Linked DNA regions of Homo sapiens: all the other regions are linked to region 4. The links are contacts of gene promoters, found by promoter capture Hi-C in human tissues and cell types (Jung and others, 2019). All regions are on one chromosome and are shown on one strand. Each heading gives the region's core, a stretch centred on a gene start or on the middle of the fragment in contact. The rest is flanking DNA. Distances are from core to core; before and after follow the strand shown.

Region 1 (3,191 bases), core at 546-3,045, 140 kb before region 4:
TCGAGACTAGCCTGGCCAACAAAGTGAAACTCTGTCTCTACTAAAAATACAAAAATTGGCTGGGCACAGTGGCTCATGCCTGTAATTCCAGCACTTTGGGAGGCTGAGGCGGGCGGATCACGAGGTCAGGAGATCGAGATCATCCTGGCTGACACGGTGAAACCCCTCTCTACTAAGAATACAAAAAATTAGCTGGGCGTGGTAGTGGGCCCTGTAGTCCCAGCTACTCGGGAGGCTGAGGCAGGAGAATGGCGTGAACCCGGGAGGTGTAGCTTGCAGTGAGCCGAGATTGTGCTACTGCACTCCAGCCTAGGCAACAGAGCGAGACTCCATCTCAAAAAAAAAAAAAAAATAATAATAATACAAAAATTAGCTGGGCATGGTGGTGCGCGCCTGTAATCCCAGCTACTTGGGAGGCTGAGGCAGAAGAATTGCTTGAACCTGGGAGGCAGAGGTTGTGGTGAGCCGAGATCGTGCCACTGCACTCCAGCCTGGGCAACAGAGTGAGACTCTGTCTCAAAAAAAAAAAAAAAAAGGCTCTTGCTTGGTCATTGTGTTAAATGTAGAGTTTATATGAATTAACAGTGACACCATAGTCCATTTCCATGCTTATTAATTCCAACTAATTATGGCGAATCATTCATATGATATTTGGGGCTTGTTTGCTTTGACAAAGGAAGGCAGTACCTTGAGTTTCATATAGGGCAGTGTGTGGTGGACAGCTCTCTTCCCATTTAGTAATTATTTAGTCATTTGGATTAGTTTTTTTTTTTTTTTTTTTTTTTTTTTTTTTTTTTTTAGAAACAGGGTCTTGTTCTGTTGCCCAGGCTGGAATGTAGTAGTGCGATCATAGGTTATTGCAGTCTTGAACACCTGGGCTCACTTCTGCCTCCCAAGTAGCTGGGACTATAGCTTTGCAACACCATCCCTGGCTAATTCTTTTTTCTTTTTAGAGATGGGGTCACTATGTTGGCCAGGCTGGTCCCAAACTCCTGACCTCAAATGATTCTCCTGCCTTGGCCTCCCAAAGCACTAGGATTCCAGGTGTAAGCCACTATGCCCAGCCCGTATTAGTTCTTCTTCATCTTGCCATCATGTCTTCACAGTTACCTCTTCCCCACCCCTTGCATCCCTTGAGGGACTTCTATATCTTTAGACATTAATTCAAGTTCAGATCTAATAACTATAGGATTTGTCCTCTCAAAGTCAGAGTTAGGCAGCTCTGCAAATGAATATGGCAGGCATGCTGACCATTTATACCCTCTTCTATTTCCCAGCACAAATGCCCAGTACCTGATGGATACCCAGGAAATGTTTGTGGAACAAATGAATAAACTTACATTCTTTTTTATTTTTATTTATTTATTTTTTTTGAGTCGGAGTCTCGCTCTGTCGCCCAGGATGGAGTGCAGTGGTGCGATCTGGGCTCACTGCAACATCCCCTCCCGGGTTCACGTGATTCTCCTGCCTCAGCCTCCCGAGTAGCTGGGGCTACAGGCACCTGCCACCACGCCCAGCTAATTTTTTGTATTTTTAGTAGAGACGGGTTTTTTTTTTTTTTTTTTTTTTTTTTTTTTTTTTTTTTGAGATGGAGTTTTCTCTGTCGCCCAGGCTGGAGTGCAGTGGTGTGATCTCGGCTCACTGCAAGCTCCGCCTCCTGGGTTCATGCCATTATCCTGCCTCAGCCTCCTGAGTAGCTGGGACTACAGGCGCCCGCCATCACGCCTGGCTAATTTTTTTTTTATATTTTTAGTAGAGACGGGGTTTCACCGTGTTAGCCAGGATGCTCTCGATCTCCTGACCTCGTGATCTGCCCACCTCAGCCTCCCAAAGTGCTGGGATTACAGGCGTGAGCCACCGCGCCTGGCCAGAGACAGGGTTTCAATGTGTTAGCCAGGATGGTCTCGATCTCCTGACCTCGTGATCTGCCCACCTTGACCTCCCAAAGTGCTGGGATTAGAGGCGTGAGCCACTGCGCCCGGCCGAATAAACTTACATTCTATCTTCATCTTTCACTGCTTTCCTAATATGTAAACTCACGGCACATTAAAACGGAACTATTCTCTATTTTCCTCTCTGAAGATAGGTCGTAATCCATAGTCATCTTTGGATCTCAAGCTTCTAGCACACATTAGGTTTTCTTTTATTTTTATTTTTTGAGACGGAGTCTCACTCTGTCGCCCAGGCTGGAGTGCAGTGATCTCTGCTCACTGAAACCTCTGCCTCCCGGGTTCAAATGATTCTCCTGCCTCAGCCTCCTGAGTAGCTGGGATTACAGGTGAGCACCACCACCTCCAGCTAATTTTTTTATTTTTAGTAGAGACAGGTTTTCACCATGTTGGTCAGGCTGGTCTCCAACCCCTGACCTCATGATCCGCCCGCCTCAGCCTACCAAAGTGCTGGGATTACAGGCGTGAGCCACTGCTCCTGGCAGTCTTTTTCTTTTCTTTTTTTTTTTTTAAACAGAGTTTTGTTCTGTTGCCCAGAACGGAATGCAGTGGTGTGATCTCAGCTCACTGCAACCTCCGGCTCGCGAGTTCAAGCGATTCTCCTGCCTCCGCCTCCCGAGTAGCTGGGATTACAGGCGCGTACCACCACATCTGGCTAATTTTTGTATTTTTTAGTAGAGATGGGGTTTCACCATGTTGGCCAAACTGGTCTCGAACTCCTGACCTCAGGTGATTCACCTGCCTCAGCCTCCCAAAGTGTGGGGATTATAGGCGTGAGCCACTGATTCCAGCCTAAGGTTTTCTTTCTCTTTCCTTTTCTTTCTCCTTTTTTTTTGGCGGGGGGGTGGGGGTGGGATAGGGTCTTGCTCTGTCACCCAGGCTGGAGTGCAGTGGCATGATCTCAGCTCCCTGCAACTTTCACCTCCCGCGCCCAAGAGATCCTCTCACCTCAGCCTCCCAAGTAGCTGGGACTACAGGTGTGCACCACCACTCCCAGCTAACTTTTTTGTATCTTTTTATTTATTTTATTTTTTCCTGAGGCGGCGTATCGCTCTGTCGCCCAGGCTGGAGCGCAGTGGCGCGATCTCGGCTAACTGGAAGCTCCGCCTCCCAGGTTCACGCCATTCTCCTGCTTCAGCCTCCTGAGTATCTGGGACTACAGGCGCCTGCCACCACGCCCATCTAATTTTTTTGTATTTTTAGTAGAGACGGGGTTTCACTGTGTTAGCCAGGATGGTCTCA
Region 2 (3,377 bases), core at 398-2,897, 140 kb after region 4:
CTCTCTGCTTCACCCTCTGCCCAGACTCCGGCGCCGTCTTTGCCCAGAAAGAAAGCCCAGGGGCCCCACCAGCCTTCGCCTCCCCACCGGACCCATGGGGCCGCCTGCACCGCAGTCCTCTGACCTTTCCTGCCTGGGTCCGGCCCCCTGAGGCCGCCCGGACTCCAGGCTCAGACAAGGAGCGGCCTGTGGAGCGGAGGGAGCCCTCCATCACCAAGGAGGAGAAGGACAGGTGTGCCTCCCACCCACCCTGCCCCTGCCCCACCCTCAGCCCCTGCTGCCCCTGGAGAACTTCATTCTCTCCCCACGCCTGCCCTCCAGGGACCTCCCCTTCTCACGGCCCCAGCTCCGAGTTTCTCCTGCTACTCCCAAGGCCCGGGCTGGTGAGGAGGGGCCTCGGCCAACCAAGGAATCTGTGCGGGTAAAGGAAGAGCGGAAGGAGGAGGCTGCCGCCGCCGCTGCCGCTGCTGCTGCCGCCGCCGCTGCCGCCGCCGCAGCAGCCACTGGGCCCCAGGGCCTTCACCTGCTGTTTGAGAGGCCCCGGCCGCCCCCGTTTCTGGGCCCTAGCCCACCAGATCGCTGTGCTGGCTTCCTGGAGCCAACCTGGTTGGCAGCACCCCCACGCCTGGCAAGGCCACCCCGCTTCTATGAGGCGGGTGAGGAGCTAACTGGACCCGGGGCCGTGGCCGCTGCCCGCCTCTACGGTCTGGAACCTGCTCACCCCTTGCTCTACAGCCGCTTGGCTCCTCCACCACCACCTGCTGCGGCCCCGGGAACCCCTCACCTTCTCAGCAAGACCCCACCGGGAGCCCTTTTGGGGGCACCACCTCCGCTTGTGCCCGCCCCCCGGCCCAGTTCCCCACCTAGGGGCCCTGGCCCAGCTCGGGCTGACAGGTGAGGGGAACGGGGGGGGGTCGGGGCAAAGCTCCATCTCCCCTTCCTTTAACCAGGTCCTAGGGCTGAGGTTTTAAGCCAGGGCTGGAGGGCAAAGGTCATAACCTCACCAGCCACCTCTGAGGTCATGGAACCTGGGAACAGAAGCCTCAACCCCCACAAGACCAAGCATCACATGGAGTGTAGGGTCACTGGGAGAGCAGAGGTCACAGCCTCTAGAGAAGGGAGAGGGGCGTGTGCATGGGAGTGTGGCTCATCTCGGGGGCCATGGGGCCTCCTGAGGTACACCTTTGCCCCTGTAAGGGCCTCTAGGCCCTGGGCCTGCCTCCCCAAGGGCTCACTAAGCCAGAGGCCAAAGTGCCCCCTCCCGTTCACCTACCACCCAAGTCCTCATGCCCTCCGAGGGCTGGGGGAGGAGGGGCTCAAGGAAGGGGGGTTCCATGTACATATTTATCACCCCTTTCACATAGCCCCAAGACCTTTTGTACATTTTTACAGGGGTGCCCCTCCCAACAGTTCCCTTCCTGGTTAATTAAACCCTCAGACTGGTGCTGTGTTCCTAGCCTCTGGCCTCTCTGTGGGGAAAGGGGACTGCAGGGGGAAGAGCCGGGAAGGGACAGTCAGGCTTCTCCCTGGGAAGGTGGGGCCAGCAGGAGATGACCAACAGGGGGCAGGACCTGGGGACCTGGGCTGGAGGGAAGGGCAGAAGCTTCCTACTTGGCTGACAGCCCCGGTTCCCCCAACATGTTCCCGTTCACTCTGCCCCCACCCCCAAAGGCTCAGCCTCTAAATCTCAGACTCCACCACCTCTTAATGGCTCAGTCCCCTTCACCCCATTTCCAAGTGCCCCCAGGACTCCTGGGCCCTGCTTCCCTGAACCCTGTTCTCCAAAACCCTGCCCCAGGCTAAGGGTGGCCAGAGAAGGTCACCATGTACCACACACCAAAGAAGGGGGTCGGCCCAGGGGTGGGCGACACAGGCAGCTTCTTCGGCAGCCTCACGGCAGCAACCCCAGCCTTCCCAAAGCAGCAGGCGCCTCCAGGCTGGGGCCCAACCTAGAAGGCAGGGGTCAATCTAACAAAACCCTAACGTTGACTTTTTTCCCTGGTGGGGCTTCTTCTGTAACATGACTTGCGAATATTTATATAAAAACGAGTGTTACAATGAGACCCCCGGCTCCTCTTTGAGTGTGTGTGGGGTGGGTTGGACCAGGGTGGGGTGTGTGGGTCCTGGGGTAAGGGAGGGATGAGGACAGTACTGTCCGTATCCCGCCAAGGTTTTCCTCCCTGCCATCCACTGGGCAAGTTGGTCTGCCATTTCTGGAGGGATGGGTTCGAGGGTTGGGCACTGAAGTTTTTCACACTGTTTTTCTATAATCCAGGAATACATAGTATGTAGGATTCAAGCAACCCAGTAAGACACTGAGCAAAACATTAAATTTCTCCTTCACCTGCCAACCTTCCCAAGCCCCATCCCCTTCCCCCAGGTAACCGCTGTAAATCATTAGGTGTATATTCTTCAGGTCCTTTCTATGTGTTCTCGCACATGTCTGCACAGGCAGAGTATGTTTAAAAAGATCTGTAATTTAAAATTTTTCTGGTTTTTGTGGAGTAATACATAGTCATTATAAAACCATTCAAACACACAAATACAGAACACGGAGGGAAAGTGCTCCATCATCCCACCTCTTGAGGATAACCAGTTTTTTGCTTTGTTTTGTTTTGTTTTGTTTTTTTGAGACGGAGTTTCGCTCTTGTTGCCCAAGCTGGAGTGCAATGGCACGATCTCGGCTCACCGCAACCTCTGTCTCCCGGGTTCAAGCGATTCTCCTGCCTCAGCCTCCCGAGTAGCTGGGATTACAGGCATGCGCCACCACGCCTGGCTAATTTTGTTTTTTTTTTTTTTTTTTTTTTTAATAGAGATGGGGTTTCTCTATGTTGGTCGGGCTGGTCTCTAACTCCCAACCTCAGGTGATCTGCCTGCCTTGGCCTCACAAAGTGCTGGGATTACAGGCGTGAGCCACCGCACCTGGCAACCACTGTTAATTTTCGGGGAAATTCCTCCAGTTATTTTTCTAGCTACTACAGGTCACTGCAACAAAGCGAGGCACATGAATTTTTTCATTTCCTGGTGCATATAAATGTTATGGTTCTGGCTGGGCATGGTGGCTCACGCCTGTAATCCCAGCACTTTGGGAGGTTGAGGCAGATGGATCACGAGGTCAGGAGATTGTAGACCATCCTGGCCAACATGGTGAAACCCTGTCTCCACTAAAAATACAAAAATTAGCCAAGCATGATAGCGTGCGCCTGTAGTCCCAGCTACTCAGGAGGCTGAAGCAGGAGAATTGCTTGAACCCAGGAGGTTGAGGTTGCGGTGAGCTGAGGTAACGCCACTGCACTCCAGCCTGGGCGACAGAGCGAGACTCCATTTCCAAAAAAAAAAAAAATTACTGTTCCACAATACTGCAGTCTTAAGTGAGC
Region 3 (3,390 bases), core at 532-3,031, 160 kb before region 4:
GGAGGTTGCAGTGACCCGAGGTGGCGCCACTGCATTCCAGCCTGGGCGACAGAGCGAGACTCCGTCTCAAAAAACAAAAATAAAAAATAAACGTTCCAAAACTGAGCTCCTGATATGCCCCCCACAGCTACCTTTACCCCATCTGTATTAGTAAACAGCAACTCCATTCTTCTCATTTCTCAGGCCAAAAACCCTACTCCCCTCTCTCCTCTCACACTGCATGTCTAATCCATTGGCAAATCCCTTTGACTCGACCTTCAAAATATATCCAGAATCCAACCACTTCTCCCCATACTCCCGCTGCTACCATGCTGGTCTAGCTCTCACCCTCTCCTGGATTACAGGAAGTCTCCTAACTGGTCCGTTTCTGTCCTTGTCTCCCTATAGTCTGTTCTCAGCATGGTAGCCAGAATGACCCTTTTAAAACATAAGCAGGATCAAGTCATTTGTAACCCCATCCCCACTCACATTCTCTATTTCCCTCTTGCTTTAAACTCCTCTTTAGGCCCAGGCACAGTGGCTCACGCCTGTAATCCCAGCACTTAAGGAGGCTAAGGCAGGCGGATCGCTTGAGCCCAGGAGTTCAAGACCAGCCGGGGCAACATGATGAAAACCCATCTCTATCAAAAAACAAATAAAAGTAAAAATAAAAATAACCTCCTCCTTAATGCTTACCATCATTTCACATACAATATACTTTCCTTTCCCTGATTTATTGTTTGTCCCCACTAAAATATAAACACCATGAGAGGAGTTTTTGGTTTTTTGTTCACTGCAATCATTTGTGACTAGACAGTGCCTGGTAGATAGCAGATGCTCAATAAATATTTGCTAAAGGATGAATTATTGATTTAAAAAATTGTCCGGCTGACCGTGTTGGCTCACGCCTATAACGCTAGCACTTTGGGAGGCCAAGGCAGGTGAATCACCTAAGGTCAGGAGTTCGAGACCAGCCTGGCTAACATGGTGAAACCCCCGTCTCTACTAAAAATACAAAAATTAGCCGGGTGTGGTGGCGCGCACCTGTAATGCCAGCTACTTGGGAGACTGAGGCAGGAGAATCACCTGAATCCAGGAGGCAGAGGTTGCAGTGAGCCAAGATCGTGCCACTGTACTCCTGCCTCGGCAACAAGAGCAAAACTCCATCTCAAAAAAAAAAAAAAAGAAAAGAAAGAACAAAAAGTCCATCTGGCCAGGCGCAGTGGCTCACACCTGTAATCCCAGCATTTTGGGAGGTCAAGGCGGGCAGATCACTTGAGGTTGGGAGTTCAAGACCAGTCTGGCCAACACAGTGAAACCCCGTCTCTGCTAAAAACACAAAAATGAGCTGGGCACGATGGTGTGCACCTATAATCCCAGCTACTCAGGAGGCTGAGGCATGAGAATTGCTTGTACCTGGGAGGCAGAGGTTGCAGTGGGCTGAGATCACACCACTGCACTCCAGCCTGGGCAACAAAGGGAGACTCCATCTCAAAAAACAAAACAAAAAAAAGTCCATCAGAGAACTCCCTAAGATGATCATCTTGCATACTACTAGAGAAGAGTATATACTGACATCTGGAGGAAGCTTGGTCTATAGAACAAAATTCCAAATGCTTTGGCATAGCATTTAAGGGTCCCTGGTGATCTTTTCCATAACCCCCAGGCAGGAAAACCCTGCCCCACTGCTGTAGCTCCCACCCCTCCAAAACCCAGCCCAAATGCAAGCTCTTCAAGGAGCCCATGACGTGCCCCCACACACAACCTGAGTCAAGTCTCCTTCCCAGGACAGTTCCTTTGACATGGCTTGACACTTAGTCCATTACAGATAGCTCTTCTACAAGTCCTGAAGGGCAAAAACCACTTTCGACTCAGTCTTGTATCCACCTAGCTAAAAGGTGGATCCTCCAGCCAATGTTTGCTGACTGACCCCCATGGTCCGGCCACCTTACCCATGCCCCCCTCGAGCAGCAAACATCTCGTGGAAAGGGAACTGGCGGTGCAGGTCCTTCTCAATCACATCCAGCCACTTGGGGTCCCCAGGAGCCCGTTCCAGCTCCTGCAGTGGGACAGTGGGGATTACCTCAGCATCTGGGGGAACTGATACCCCTTGCACAGACAGGGCCACATGTCCCCACACCTTGGAGCTGCACGCACCTCAAACTTTCCTGGGTTCTGCTCCAGAAGTTCCTTGCTATTAGACAGGTACTGCCAGGCTTTGGCTCTGAGAGAGGAGGGGATCCCCTTCCGGCAGCGCAGCTTCACCTAAGGCAAAGTGGCAGGAGGGGGACAGCTTCAAGGGCTGGCACAGCCTCCAACCTTTCCCCAGCAGTCCACAAACTCCCTGGATACTCCTCCGACATCCCATAGGCTTGATTCCACTGGACCTGGCCTGGACTTCTATTTTTAAAGCCATTCCCCCGCCAGGGCCCATCTATCCCCAGTGTGGTCCAGAGGGCAGATATTATCGGCTTCCTGGGCTTCCCTGGAGCACATGCTACCCCTCCCAACTTGTGCATTGCCCTGCCCACCATTCAGCCCTCAAACCTTCTGGAATCGCCGTGACAGCCACTTATCCCAGTTACTGAACATGTCCAGCCATTTGAGCTCCCGCTGCCGAGCCACGTCCACGGGAATGGAGCTCTCTCTGCAGGGTCGGGGGAGCACGGAAGGGGTCAGTAGCAATAGTGTAAAACCTGCATTGCAGGGGGAACTGAGGCAAGCCACCTCCCCAAGCTCAAACGAGAAACTGGATAGTCTGTGAGCTGCCAAACATCAGGATGTCTGGCCACTTGGGCATCCCAAGGCACACTGAAAGGGCTTCCTTCCCTGATGGATCTCTATTCAGAGGTCATATTTAAATCTCACTTCTGACACATCCAAATCTGGGGAGAGAGTATGGAGTATTTTAAAGCCACATTTTGCATTAGATCTGGATCCACGTCCTAGCTTTACCATTTATTCATTGTGTGACCTTGGGCAAATCACTTAATTTTGCTAAGCCCAATTTCCTCATCTGTAAGGTGGAGAAAGTAACAATATCTACCCGAAGGGGTTTATACGAAATAACACACAGCGAAGTGCCCATTAAGTAATACCTTACTATCCATAAAATAAAATACCCTAGAGGGCCAGGCATGGTAGCTCATGCCTGTAATCCCAGCACTTTGGGAAGCAGAGGCAAGAGGATCACTTGAGGCCAGGAGTTCAAGGCCAGCCTGGGCAACATAACGAGATTCTGTCTCTACAAAAAATAAAAATAAAATAATAAAATAGGCCGGGCATGGTGGCTCCCACCTGTAATCCCAGCACTTTGGGAGGCCGAGGCAGGCGGATGACTTGAGGTCAGGAGTTTGAGACCAGCCTGGACAACATGGTAAAACCCTGTCTCTACTATAAATACAAAAATTA
Region 4 (3,142 bases), core at 524-3,023:
GCGGGCGTGGATGGCCAGCACCGAGCTCTGGCCAAAGCGCTTGCCGCACTCAGGGCACTTGAAGGGCTTCTCCCGGGCGTGGCTGCGGGCATGGGGGATAAGGGCCGACCGCTGGGAGAAGCTCTTGCCGCAGATGCCACAGCTGAAGGGCCTCTGACCGGTGTGCACCCTCTGATGGCTGCGCAGGGACGAGTTCTGGCTATAGCACTTGCCGCACTCGGTGCAGCTGTAGGGCCGCTCGTGGCTGTGGGTGCGCTGGTGTCGCAGGAGGTAGGAGCTGTCGCCGAAGGCCTTGCCACAATGTGGGCACTTGTAGGGCTTCTGGCCAGAGTGAGTGCGCTGGTGGCGAAGCAGGTAAGAGCTGTCGGCGAAGGCCTTGCCGCAACGGGGACATTTGTAGGGCCGCTCGCCAGTGTGGGTGCGCTGGTGTTTGATGAGGTCAGAGCTCTGGGAGAAGGCCTTGCTGCAGACCTCACATTTGTAGGGCTTCTCACCGGTGTGGATGCGCTGGTGCTGGATCAGGGTGGAGCCCCGCCCGAAGCTCTTCCCGCAGATGCCACAGATGTTAGGCCGAGGGCCCTGCCCACCCCTGGCCCGGCCACCCCGCCGACCTGGACCTCGAAGGGCTCCTGTGAGACCCAGGGGATTCTGAAGCATCTCAAACTGCGGTGTAGACAGCAGGGCCCCTGTGGGCATCTCAAAAGGTGGCCCTATGGGCAGGTCCCCTGTGGGCTGCTCCCCAAACCCCTGAGTGAAGGAGTCCAGGGGGTGAACTCCTACGGAGATATTCAAAGGACTCTTTTCCTCGGGGTTCAGAAGCATCTCCGCACCTTCCTGGAATTTGGAACTTTGAGCTTCAAATTCTGGGCTTTGGGTTTTGAGCTCAGTGTTCTGGGATTCATATCTAGAGCTCTCAGATTCATAGCCAGGGCTCCGGGGTTCATACCCGGGGCTCCGAGGTTCATAGCCAGGGCTTTGGGGTTCATACCTAGGGCTCTGGGATTCAAACTCAGGGCTCTGAGAATCTGATTCAGGGCTTCTGGGTGCAAACTCAGGGCTTGGGGGCACAAGCCCAGGGCTTCGGGACTCAAACCCCGGGCTTTCAGGCTCAAATCTGGGGCTTTGGGGTTCAAACTCTGGGCTTTGTGGCTCAAACCCAGGGCTCTGGGGTTCAAGCCCAAATGGTATCTCTTCGACTTCATAGTCCCCACTGCCTTCTTGCTGAGAAATTTCCTCTTCCTCATTCTCACTCATGTTGCCTGCAGGATGAGAGAATCCAGATCGTGTGAGACCTGGAAGGTCATTTGGTCCATTAGCAACCACACACCTCCCACCTCACATGCAGGGTCGCTGGCCCCTAGACAAGTGCTGAAATTCCCACGCCCCCCTCAGCTGACCCAAGACACCCCAGTCCCCGCCGGCCCCTCCTTCGAGTCCCAGGTGTCCCAGCCCCGGGCCCTCGCTCCCTCCCTGGAGCCACAGCCCCTTCTCCTGCGCGCAAGTCCACTCCTCGGACGGGCGCTCCCTCCTCACCTCTGAGGTACCCTTCGGGGCTCCTCATTTCGTCAGAACTCTGCACATCCTGGGGCTCGAGGCCCCACGGCAACGCCTCCCGCTCCATCCCCGCGGGCTCCCAGTGCAGCGGCGGCGGCGATGGCGGCCGATCCCGCGACCCGGCCTCGGTTGCCCCGAGCCGCGGGCCCCCGCCTCCCGCCCGCTCAGCGCCGCCCAGGGGACTCGGCGGCCCAGCCCGGGCCCCCGAGGCCGGACGTCTTGACCCCGCGCCTCTCCAGCGCGCCGGGCCCCTCCCCTGCCCGCGGCCCCGCCCCCTCCCAAGGTCTCGGCCTCCCCGTGGCCCTCACTGGCCCCCGCGCGTCGCGGCCTCGGGGATGAGGGGCTTCGCGACTACCCCGGCGGCCCCCGGCCCCCGCTCCCGCCCGAGCCCCCACCTTCTGGACCCCGGCCCCGGGCTGGGCTGCACTGTCCAACGGCCGCCCAGCACCCCCCCACCCTCCCCCGCACAGGAAGTGTCCGTCCGCGGCCAGGTCCCCCCGCCGGCTCGCGCCGCGGCCTCTCTAGGAGCCGCTGGAGGTGGAAACTCGTTGGCATTAACCCTGGGCTGGAGGGGCCCGGCCACGGGGTGGGTGAGGACCGGACGCCCCGGAGCCCGCGGGGCTACCGGGGCAGTGTGTGTGCCTATGTTCTAGGTCTCCGTCCCTCCAGAGGCCCGTCTGTCCATCTCCCGGGCCCCGCGTCGTCGGTGCGTGTGGCCAAGGGCGAGGCGACAAGCGAGACCAAGGTCAGCGAGAAGGAGCGACGCTTCCCGGCGCCAGCGGGGGCGGTGTCTCGCTCCCTCCCCTCCCGGGCCTCCGGGTCAGCTCCGGCAGCGCCTCGGGAACCGGGACGGACTCCCCTTGGCCTCGCCGAGGTCCTTGAGCCTGGGACCCCCTCCAGGAACTCCGCTCCCCGGCACCTGCGCGCGCCCGCTCCCGTTCCTCCGGCCCCCACCCAGCTCGGCTCCCCTGATCCTCCTCCTCCCTCCTCCCTCCTCGAGGGCTAGGATAGTTGCCAAGGAGACAGCCCCGCCCCGGCTCCCAGAGGCACAGCTTCTCCGCCCCAGGAAGCCCGGCGGTTGGCCGATGGGGCTCGTGCTCTAGCCGCCCCGCCTCCTCCAACCCCGCGGACGGCTGGGCGTTAATGGTCGCCAGGGAACGCCAGGCGCCTTCCTGATTGGCCGGGAGTGCTGTGGTCGGGTCCGCCTCCCCTGTCGGCCAGAAGCGCCTTCAGGAGGTAGTGGGAGGGAGGTGCCAGGCATCTCCCCTCCAGCCCGGCCTGTGCCATCAAAACTTTTCCCGCCCCCACTTAGCCTCCATTATGTTTTATGAAAGCCAGAAGATCTGAGGACAGACACCCTTCCTCCTCGTCAGCCTCACACCCCTTGCCTCTCCCCTCCACCTTCCCCAGCGCCTGAGTTTAACTCAATCCCTGGCAGCCTTAGTCCCTGTTGTTAGATTTCCTCACAGGGAGGCAGGATTCCTTCCAGGTGAGGGTGATACAAAGGAGAATTGGACTGAGAGAACCATCTGGCCTTCGAGGCATCTAACAACTCTCCAGTCTTGTCTGACTCGAATGGAGTCTTGCA

The links. The method cuts DNA at HindIII sites, captures the fragments that hold promoters and counts their contacts. A contact is called where the count stands out against the background at its distance.
Region 1: a fragment that was not itself captured here is called in contact with the fragment with the promoter of ZNF768 in region 4 in 1 of the 25 tissues and cell types used here (dorsolateral prefrontal cortex).
Region 2: a contact is called between a fragment that was not itself captured here and the fragment with the promoter of ZNF768 in region 4, in 2 of the 25 tissues and cell types used here (adrenal gland and mesenchymal stem cells).
Region 3: a contact is called between a fragment that was not itself captured here and the fragment with the promoter of ZNF768 in region 4, in 2 of the 25 tissues and cell types used here (bladder and mesenchymal stem cells).

What each region holds. Positions count from the first base shown.
Region 1 is chr16:30,389,055-30,392,245 of GRCh38, forward strand. It overlaps a transcript of ZNF48 not described here. Among named protein-coding and RNA genes, the nearest start is that of ZNF48, 4.8 kb to the right of the region's middle. The HindIII fragment of the contact is 2,143 bases long and covers 725-2,867 here.
Region 2 is chr16:30,668,748-30,672,124 of GRCh38, forward strand. It overlaps FBRS (fibrosin), which reads left to right. Exons shown (of 18, transcript NM_001105079.3): 17 at 25-232; 18 at 322-2,063. The coding sequence ends at 898. Among named protein-coding and RNA genes, the nearest start is that of FBRS, 12 kb to the left of the region's middle. RefSeq lists a silencer at 1,489-1,682. The HindIII fragment of the contact is 4,874 bases long and covers 1-3,377 here.
Region 3 is chr16:30,362,969-30,366,358 of GRCh38, forward strand. It overlaps TBC1D10B (TBC1 domain family member 10B), which reads right to left. Exons shown (of 9, transcript NM_015527.4): 2 at 2,527-2,626; 3 at 2,137-2,244; 4 at 1,932-2,038. Among named protein-coding and RNA genes, the nearest start is that of TBC1D10B, 5.8 kb to the right of the region's middle. The HindIII fragment of the contact is 4,833 bases long and covers 1-3,390 here.
Region 4 is chr16:30,524,793-30,527,934 of GRCh38, forward strand. It overlaps ZNF768 (zinc finger protein 768), which reads right to left and starts at 1,774. Exons shown (of 2, transcript NM_024671.4): 1 at 1,534-1,774; 2 at 1-1,259. The coding sequence starts at 1,621. RefSeq lists enhancers at 1,220-1,279, 2,860-3,142 and silencers at 1,480-1,529, 1,550-1,869, 1,960-2,789. The HindIII fragment of the contact is 23,531 bases long and covers 1-3,142 here.